Linked DNA regions of Homo sapiens: region 1 is linked to region 2. The links are contacts of gene promoters, found by promoter capture Hi-C in human tissues and cell types (Jung and others, 2019). All regions are on one chromosome and are shown on one strand. The core of a region is centred on a gene start or on the middle of the fragment in contact, and the rest is flanking DNA. Distances in the headings are between cores, read along the strand shown. Region 1 overlaps LOC124904033 (a long non-coding RNA gene). Region 2 holds the start of KIF2B (kinesin family member 2B).

Region 1 (5,140 bases), core at 711-3,210, 1.1 Mb after region 2:
ATAACTTTTTTTTTAACATGAATCAGAATGCAACTCTAATCACGATGCAAACCCCTGATTTAGCAATATCAAAACTGTACATGACCTGTTTTGCATTCCTATTTAGCCCTGGAATGCAACCAATGCTATTGTTGTTCCTATGTTTTTGTAAGGAACATGGTTGGTAGGACATTCACTTTATAACTTGGGGCTAAGACTAATAGAAAATACTATGATTTCTACCACTTTCATCCCTACTACTTTTGAAGCTCATCCTGATCTTTTTATAATTAAGAAGCTTAATGAGGAAACATTGTGTGACTACTAGGCTCAAGGACTTGAGGAAAAGTAAATTTTCTGCCCATCTGCATGAAGAATTAACTTTGTCCACTGGTTTATAATTTCTTCCTTACTTGATTGTGAGCACTGAGCACTTGGGATGCAGAGATTGGATTTTAGCTTGTTCATATACACTAATTCCTAGCATCGTGACTGGCGCATTTGGGGACTTCATTATGTGTTTGTGGAATGAATGAGTGCATGCTGTCATATGTTCTCATTGCTCAGTTGGTAAAGCTAACATAGAAGGACTTATAACTGTAAAAGACACTAGGACACCTTTGTAACTGCTCTCACCACTACAGAGATGGGCTAGCACTGAAAAGTAAAAGTTGTCTCTATAAAAGAGTGAGGCACAGAATACGTGAGTTTCAGACTGACCAGAGCTCTCTTCCCCTACGTTGCATTGGTCATTACACTATTTGGTCATCACATTATTTGTTCTCAGGCCTACACTAACAGGCCTGGGTCTAACCCTATGCTGCCCAGATCTTTAATCCAGGACTCAATCCTCCATGCAAAGTTAGTTCCTGGTTTGTACTCCCATGATACTGTGTCCATATTTTTGTTTAACACTTAGACTGAACTGCAATGATCTGCTTACTAGGAAGTTTCCCTCACTGGCTTAGAAGTCCATGTTGTACCTCTGTATAAAATTCAATAATGTGTGATAAAGGAAGGAAGGAATAAATGAGCTAATAAGCATGTAAAATATAAGTCACTATCCCCTTTCATCTCCTTGATGATTTAAGCTGATTGATCGTGACATCCATCCTCGTTAGACCCACCTTCAACCTCTCCCCTTTCTTAATGGTTTTGCCTCTCCAAACGGTCTCCAACAATAGTTCAAAGTTGGGGCCAGGTGTGGTGGCTCATGCCTGTAATCCCAACACTTTGGGAGGCCCAGGTGGGCGGATCACTGGAGGTCAGGAGTTTGAGAGCAGCCTGGCAAACATGGTGAAACCCTGTCTCTACTAAAAGTACAAAAAAAAAAAAATTAGCTGGGTGTGGTGGTGTATGCCTGTAATCCCAGCTACTTGGGAGGCTGAGGCAGGAGAATCTCTAGAACCCAGAGGCAGAGGTTGTAGTGAGCCAAGACTATGCCACTGCACTTCAGCCTGGGTGACAGAACAAGACTCCGTCTCAAATAAATAAATAAATAAACCTCACACACAAACACACACACACACACACACAAAGTTTGCATAACTATAGGTATGTATGTGTTATCAGAGATTCAAATCCCAGACATGGCCTTTGTGAAAGCATCCCCTCCTGCAGCCACCTAATTTCTGATACATGTCAACCTTCCCAAGCAACTCATTTCCCTGGACCCCCCATCTGCCTGCTAAATAAGTAATACCAGGTTTCACTGCCAATGTAAGACCCTCAGGGAGTAAAAACAGTGAGCAGCATCAATGTGCTTCCCAGCAGAGCAACTAGCCTTCAGCAAATAAAACACCCTGAAAACAGCTGGCTGGGGTTCCTGGAGCCCTCCTCCCCCTCCAATGAATCATTCTGTAGAATGTGGCTGCCCAGCTAGGCCTTTGGGAGAATTCGATAAGTTAAACAAGGCTGCCCTCTCATGGTTAAAAAAACTACCTGTATAAAATGTTTTCTATTTTTCAAACACAAGAAATCCAGGGCACCCCATTGAAAAACCTGTGTAATACTTATCTTTTTAAAGCAGATAATTTAAAGTATGCTGCAGTCAGCTTCTAAGAAACAATGAATGATAAATAGAAGTGAAAAAGTATATTCCAAATTTTAAAACTTGCTCTAGATTGAATTATAATCAACAAGAATTCATTACTGATTCTAGAATTTAAGTAGATGAAATAATTGCCCAAACTTGATAAGCCAATAATAAAAAATGAAACAAAGAATTGCTTAATGCATGGGATTTCTGTCTTAGGTAATTTATTTTAGACTTTAGTTGGCTTACACAGCAGTAACACTGGTTCTGTTTATATATTAATTCATTTAGTAAATATCTGCAAAGAATATACTAGAGAATCTCAACTACTGTAAGATGTAATTTTTTCCTCCATATTTTTAACATCTTTAATGCAGCCAGGTGTGGTGGCTCACGCCTGTAATCCCAGCACTTTGGGAGGCCGAGTTGGGCAGATCACCTGAGGTCAGGAGTTAGAGACCAGCCTGGCCAACACAGTGAAACCCCGTCTCTATTAAAAGTGCAAAAAAAAAAAAAATTAGCCAGGCGTTGTGGTGGGCACCTGTAATACCCGTTATTTGGGAGGCTGAGGCAGGAGAATTGCTTGAACCTGGAAGGCGGAGGTGGCAATGAGCCAAGATGGCGCCACTGCACTCCAGCCTGGGCGACAAAGGAAAACTCTGTCTCCAAAATAAAAATAAAAATAAAAACATCTCTAATGCACCTCACAACCTGTGGTATGTTATAATCTCTGTCAGCCAGGCAACAGCAGAAATGCATACATAGTTGTCATTGCGTGGGTATGTGCGATCTGCTTGTCATTTCTGATGGCTTATGGGACACTGACACCCTTGATATTTCAGTCCCAAATCTATTTAAGGACAATTTGGGGAAGAAAAACAAGTCCTGTTTGTTGTCTGGAAAAGCTTTCATTGATACTTTCTAGTAAGATCAAAAAAGCACCACTATCAAAATTTAAACTGAGTGTCAACAGCTTATAATAAAGTATTGGGAGACAATAGCAGCACTCTCTAAAAAAATGCAGTGTCACCAGTGCTGATAGTGGCATAAAAGATGACAGGGTGTGGAAAAACACATTGATGTCTCTGAGTCAAGGAGTGAGTTTGGAGAGCTGGATTCTGTATGGGAAGAAGAAATAGTATCTTTGTTAATTAATTAATTAATTATGAGATGGAGTTTTGCTCTTGTCGCCCAGGCTGGAGTATCTTGGCACAATCTCAGCTCATTGCAACCTCTCTCCCAGGTTCAAGTGATTCTCCTGCCTCAGCCTCCCAAGTAGATGGGATTACAGTCGCCCACCACCATGCCCGGCTAATTTTTATATTTTTGGTAGAGACATGGTTTCACCATGTTGGCCAGGCTGATCTCGAACTTGCGACCTAAGGTGATCCACCTGCCTAGGCCCCCCAAAGTATGGGATTACAGACGTGAACCACCAGGCCCGGCCATCTTTGTTAATTTATTTTGCTTACATTTTCCTTTTCACATTTGTAAAAGAGTCATATATGCAAAACGTCATGTCCAATGATTCTCAAAATGTTATTTAAATAAACACAAAATAAAAATTATAACTAATAAAAAAGTAGTATCTCATAGTTTAACTGGAAGCTTTTTTTTCCTTTTTGTTGTGCCAAAAAATAGTGCATCTTATCACAGAAAGAGTTTTAGATATAATGAACTATGGAACATACAAGGCGGTGTTGCAGTCACTGAATAATGCAGTGATGAGCAAAACAGAACTTTCTGTGCCCTCCCCAAGCCAGATAAGAAGACATCTATAAACATGCAAACAAATGAAGAAATGAGAGCATTTCAAATAGCAGTAAATGCTATGAAGACAATAACCCAGAATAAGAGGATAAAGAGAGGTGGGGAGGGCAAGGAGGCTTTAAATCAGCACTGTAGGTAGAATCAGGAGAAGCACAGGGGAGCTGCACATCACACCATAGTAGGTAGGAGAAGAAATGCATTCAAGGAGCAGGCAGAGGTCAACAGTGACAAATGGTATTAGAAGAGAAAAGAAGGTGAGGTGGGAGGACTGTTCTTAATATCAGCAAGATGATGTCTTTTAAAAATGGTATTATAGCTGGACTAAAACTAAAACAGGTTATAGGACGAATGGATGACCAAATCTGCTCTTTTTGGGGAGATCTGCTTTAGGGCCTGAGGGAAACAGTTGGCCTAGAGGGCTGTGGCTGCAGCGCAATATAGAATCACAAGGGTATATTTTGTGGAGCAAGGGAGCAATATTAAGTCTTGCAAGGCAAGTAAACAAATAATTGCACAAAACAATTTCAGATTATAAACAGTGTTATAAAGGACATAACCAAGATGATATGATGGAAAACAGGAAACAGAAGCCTACTTTAAGCTTTGGGCTCCAACAGTTATTGAACACCAAGGACATGCCAGGCATTTATTAAGAGCATTCAAATGTCAACTCATTTAATCTTGAGACCTACTTTTTGAGATATGTTCAATTAGTTCCATTGTTGCAGATAAAGAAACTAAGGTTCTGAAATAGTGATTTGTCTGTCAAAGATCAATTAGTAAATGGTAGCCCTGGGATTAGAACCAAATTTGACATTGAAATTAAATGTGTTTCCCTTGCTGTACACCCCTTCCTTCAAGGCTTTCCTGCAAGACAAACCTCAAAGCAGCTAGCCTTTCACAACCCCTGCCGCAAAATCCCAGCTCATGGTCTCTTTTTAGAGCCCCACTCCTATGAGACCTTTTTCAATTGAACCGATCACCAAGTTGCACATTATTCATAACATGCTAGCAGAAGCCAAATGTGTAATTATACTGACGCTAGTAGGTACCGATAGGACCTTCTTTTCCCAAACAGCATCTTTAAGTAGTGGCTTTTAGAGAGACACTGCCAAACTTCAAAAGGCCATTTTCTAATAGTGAAAATTTTAGGCCACCTGGTAGATTGGAAGGATAAATGATCACAATAACTAGTTAATATTTATTGAGCTTTATTATATGCCCAGAATCATTCCAAGTGCTATAAATATAATATCTTGTTATTTTTCAAAGCAACCCTATGAATTCGAAATTATTTTTTACCACCTGACAGCTGATTTGAGCCCAGTTAATCTGATTTGCAGACTAAAGCTAGCA
Region 2 (4,608 bases), core at 1,494-3,993:
TGTGTTTTAACAAGCCCTGCAGTTGATTTTCACATATCTTAATATTGAGAACCACCGGACTAGCAATTTGAAATTTGAAAGAAAATGGTGTGTTTGAAGGGCTGCAATTTCTTCCACATGGCTCAATTTTAGATTAAGTATGGATAGTGGGAAATCTTGAGGATGACAAAGCAGGCAAGATGATGATGTGCCTTAAGTCTTCATATGGAATTTATACCATATCATTAGGATGATGAGGAGCTAACAAATGCTTAAAAGCAGTGAATTAATAAGGAAGAACCTGTTAAAATAACTCTAGGAGCAGTGTGAGAAATAGACTAAGTCCCTGACTGGATGAGGTTGCAAAAAAAAAAAAAAAAAGAAAAAAGAAAACAAGCTCATAATTGGTTGGGAGATTAAATGATATCATGGTTATGGAAGACTTCTAGAGACTGGGAAAGGACTACCTAAGTTAGGATGGGCTGAAAGGGGAAGAACACAAAGATCTGTGTCAGGATTTTAAAGATGAGTAAATGTTGAAGTTACTAAAAGCAATTAAAAATAACAAAGACCTGCCATTTTCAGTAAGAAAATAACAGAATCAGTTTTGGATTTGTTAACTTTTTAGTTCCTGCAGGTGACTACAAGTTTAGGACTCATAATTCTGGTTATCAACAATCTATCTAGCCAGCTTTATATAAAATTAAACTGTAGGAACAAATGCAATATACTAGGGAAACTATATAAAAGAGAAAAGAACTGAAAAAAAGTCCTGAAATTGCTATGAAAACCTGTATGAACATGTTGGAGAGAAAGAGGGAGTAAAAGGAAACTTTTCTCTCTGATTTTGGCACTATTATCATGGATCTGCTCATCCATTGTCTGTCTAAAACATTACTAGCTAAGATGAAAACCCTATGGCTAGCCTGGAGGGTCTAGAGTTTTCATAATTTTGAGAGAGACCCAGCTTTTTCAAAGGTAACGGTTAAAAAAACAAAGCAAAACAAACTATTATGTGGGCTCAGTGGCTCAAGCCTATATTTCTATCACTTTGGGAGGGTGAGAAGGGAGACTCCCTTGAGGTCAGGAGTTTGAGACCAGTCTCTGTGCAACACAGCGAGACCTCATCCCTAGCAAAAAAAAAAAAAAGAAAAAAAAAAAAAAGAAAGAAACAAAGAAAGAAAATAGCAAAGCATCCTGACACATGCCTGTAATTCCAGCTACTCAGGAAGCTGAGATGGTAGGATGGCTTTAACCTAGGAGTATGAGGTGGCAGTGAGCTATGATCAGGCCACTGTACTCCAACTTGAATGACAGAGTGCTAATGACAAATACAGTGTATTAAGAATATCTACATCATGGCCTTGAAACCAAGAAAGAACAACTGATTTAAAGCACAACTTTAAGTATTGATAATTTGGGGAAATAAAACATGATATTTTTTAGAAGACAATTGCCTAAAGCCCTTTCTCCTCTCCCTCCACCTGCATACAACCTCCTCTTGAAATGAGCACTGCTTACTTATCTAATTTATCCAGTATCCTCCTTCCACCTTCTTTTCAAAATCTAAGCTTTACTAGACTGACTGAACAGAAAAGTTAGTTTATAGTAGAATTTATTTCTATAGAGGCCCTTATTCCTAGGGAAGGTTGTAACTTGCTACTTCATGTTACTTTGGAGCTATAATTATGATAAAATTCAACAGTCCAAAAGACAACATGCACGGGTGTTGCTAGTGAGCTGAACGTAAGGCATCACCCTTACTCTGAGCTTGGCCTGTCTAAAAGTCAATGTCATTTATTTTATAAGCTAATTCTTATGCATGAAAATATTGCAATCTTGGCAAAATATATTTTTGCATCCGATGGTCTTAGCTGCCTTCCAGCCTTGCTTAACAACTTCTAAAGGACACACACAAGTACTGCAGGGGTGGGGGGAGTATAAGATTAATTATCTCTTTCCACACAATGCCTTTTCTTTCTCTCCCAATTATGGATAATGAGGCCAGAAGTGTAATTACTGAAGGAGTTTGGAAAGGTAATTACTGAACTAATCTCAAAAATGGTGGTGACCACAGCACAACAAAACTCACTTTATAGCTGTCAGAGCCACTTGGAATGTGATACACATGTTGTGTTTGCAAACCCAGGTGCTGTACGAAAGGTAGTTTCATATTAGCAAATTACCACAACGACCTGCTACATTCTACTCATTTTGATTTTGTAATGAGAAAGCCGATTAAACTGTAATAACTTTAAGTTGTGACTCTTAAACAAGTTACACGTTTTGAAGGAGGTGAAAAAACAAAGATGGCGGGTTTGAGGAGCCTTTCTGGGATCCTGTTGAATATCGAGTCCTGAGATTTGCAAATAGCTCTACCTTCATCTATTCCCACTGATCACTGGAGAGTTAAAGTTTAAGGAAACTTCATAGCAATTCTCAAATTAAAGCACTGAGCTTTGAGACTGCCAGCCAAGGCCTCCTTTTATGCTTAGGCATAAATGTACACGGGACATATAAATTAAATTTCAACGCCATGGTTCCCGTTGCTTCTCTGTTACCTGTTCTTTCTCGCCATGATCCGGAGAGCACGCCACATCCTCCTCCAACCCCTTCACCCTCACTGGCAGAGAACAATCTCTCCATCCCTTTGTGCTCCCGTACCATTCACTCCTAAGCCCTAGGTTCTGCCGCCTCATCTCATCCCTTTGTGACGTAGTGGCCCCAGTCCGGGCCCCGGCGCGCTAGGCTCACAAAGGCAGGCACAGACTGCAACCCTGCTCAGTGCTCCGGGCGCTTCAGGCTGGCTTGGGTCCTGCTGCTCCAACCCCAAGGGCCCTGGAGCGCTCCCTGATACCTCCATCACTCACCATGGCCAGCCAGTTCTGCCTCCCTGAATCCCCATGTCTCTCGCCCCTGAAACCCTTGAAGCCACATTTCGGAGACATCCAAGAGGGCATCTACGTGGCGATCCAGCGCAGTGACAAGCGGATCCACCTCGCTGTGGTCACGGAGATCAACAGAGAAAACTATTGGGTCACGGTAGAGTGGGTGGAGAAAGCAGTCAAAAAAGGCAAGAAGATTGACCTGGAGACCATACTCCTGCTGAATCCAGCTCTGGACTCTGCTGAACACCCCATGCCGCCCCCGCCCTTATCCCCCTTGGCTCTGGCGCCCTCTTCGGCCATCAGGGACCAGCGTACCGCCACGAAATGGGTTGCGATGATCCCCCAGAAAAACCAAACAGCCTCAGGGGACAGCCTGGATGTGAGGGTCCCCAGCAAACCTTGTCTGATGAAGCAGAAAAAGTCTCCCTGCCTCTGGGAAATCCAGAAACTGCAGGAGCAGCGGGAAAAGCGCAGGCGGCTGCAGCAGGAGATCCGAGCTAGACGCGCCCTCGATGTCAATACCAGAAACCCCAACTACGAAATCATGCACATGATCGAAGAGTATCGCAGGCACCTGGACAGCAGCAAGATCTCAGTCCTGGAGCCCCCGCAAGAACATCGCATCTGCGTCTGCGTGAGGAAGCGGCCTCTCAACCAGCGAGAGACAACCTTAAAGGACCTGGATATCATCACCGTCCCCTCGGACAATGTGGTTATGGTGCATGAGTCCAAGCAAAAGGTGGACCTCACTCGCTACCTGCAGAACCAGACCTTCTGCTTCGACCATGCCTTCGATGACAAAGCCTCCAACGAGTTGGTGTACCAGTTCACCGCCCAGCCACTGGTGGAGTCCATCTTCCGCAAGGGCATGGCCACCTGCTTTGCCTATGGGCAGACGGGAAGTGGGAAGACGTACACCATGGGTGGAGACTTTTCAGGAACGGCCCAAGATTGTTCTAAGGGCATTTATGCTCTGGTGGCACAGGATGTCTTTCTCCTGCTCAGAAACTCCACATATGAGAAGCTGGACCTCAAAGTCTATGGGACATTTTTTGAGATTTATGGGGGCAAGGTGTATGATTTGTTGAACTGGAAGAAGAAGCTGCAAGTCCTTGAGGATGGCAATCAGCAAATCCAAGTGGTCGGGCTGCAGGAGAAAGAGGTGTGTTGTGTGGAGGAAGTGCTGAACCTGGTGGAAATAGGGAATAGCTGTCGGACTTCCAGGCAAACACCTGTCAACGCTCACTCATCCAGGAGCCATGCAGTGTTCCAGATCATCCTGAAGTCAGGACGGATAATGCATGGCAAGTTTTCCCTCGTTGATTTAGCTGGGAATGAAAGAGGAGCAGATACAACCAAGGCCAGCCGGAAAAGGCAGCTGGAAGGGGCAGAGATTAACAAGAGTCTTCTAGCCCTCAAAGAATGTATTCTGGCTTTGGGTCAGAACAAGCCTCACACCCCATTCAGAGCCAGCAAACTCACACTGGTGCTCCGGGACTCCTTTATAGGCCAGAACTCCTCCACTTGCATGATTGCTACCATCTCTCCGGGGATGACCTCTTGTGAAAACACTCTCAACACTTTAAGATATGCAAACAGAGTAAAAAAATTAAATGTAGATGTAAGGCCCTACCATCGTGGCCACTATCCGATTGGACATGAGGCACCAAGGATGTTAAAAAGTCACATCGGAAATTCAGAAATGTCCCTTCAGAGGGATGAATTTATTAAAATACCTTAT

Evidence for each region. Contacts are between HindIII fragments. The study calls those that stand out against the background at their distance.
Region 1: a contact is called between a fragment that was not itself captured here and the fragment with the promoter of KIF2B in region 2, in 1 of the 25 tissues and cell types used here (heart right ventricle).

Annotation. Positions count from the first base shown.
Region 1 is chr17:54,889,524-54,894,663 of GRCh38, forward strand. It overlaps LOC124904033 (a long non-coding RNA gene), which reads right to left. Exons shown (of 2, transcript XR_007065854.1): 2 at 4,979-5,140. Among named protein-coding and RNA genes, the nearest start is that of TOM1L1, 8.8 kb to the right of the region's middle. The HindIII fragment of the contact is 6,052 bases long and covers 1-4,986 here.
Region 2 is chr17:53,820,184-53,824,791 of GRCh38, forward strand. KIF2B (kinesin family member 2B) reads left to right here and starts at 2,744. Exons shown (of 1, transcript NM_032559.5): 1 at 2,744-4,608. The coding sequence starts at 2,851. It overlaps LOC124904030 (a long non-coding RNA gene), which reads right to left and starts at 2,743. Exons shown (of 2, transcript XR_007065851.1): 1 at 2,541-2,743. The HindIII fragment of the contact is 8,156 bases long and covers 1-4,608 here.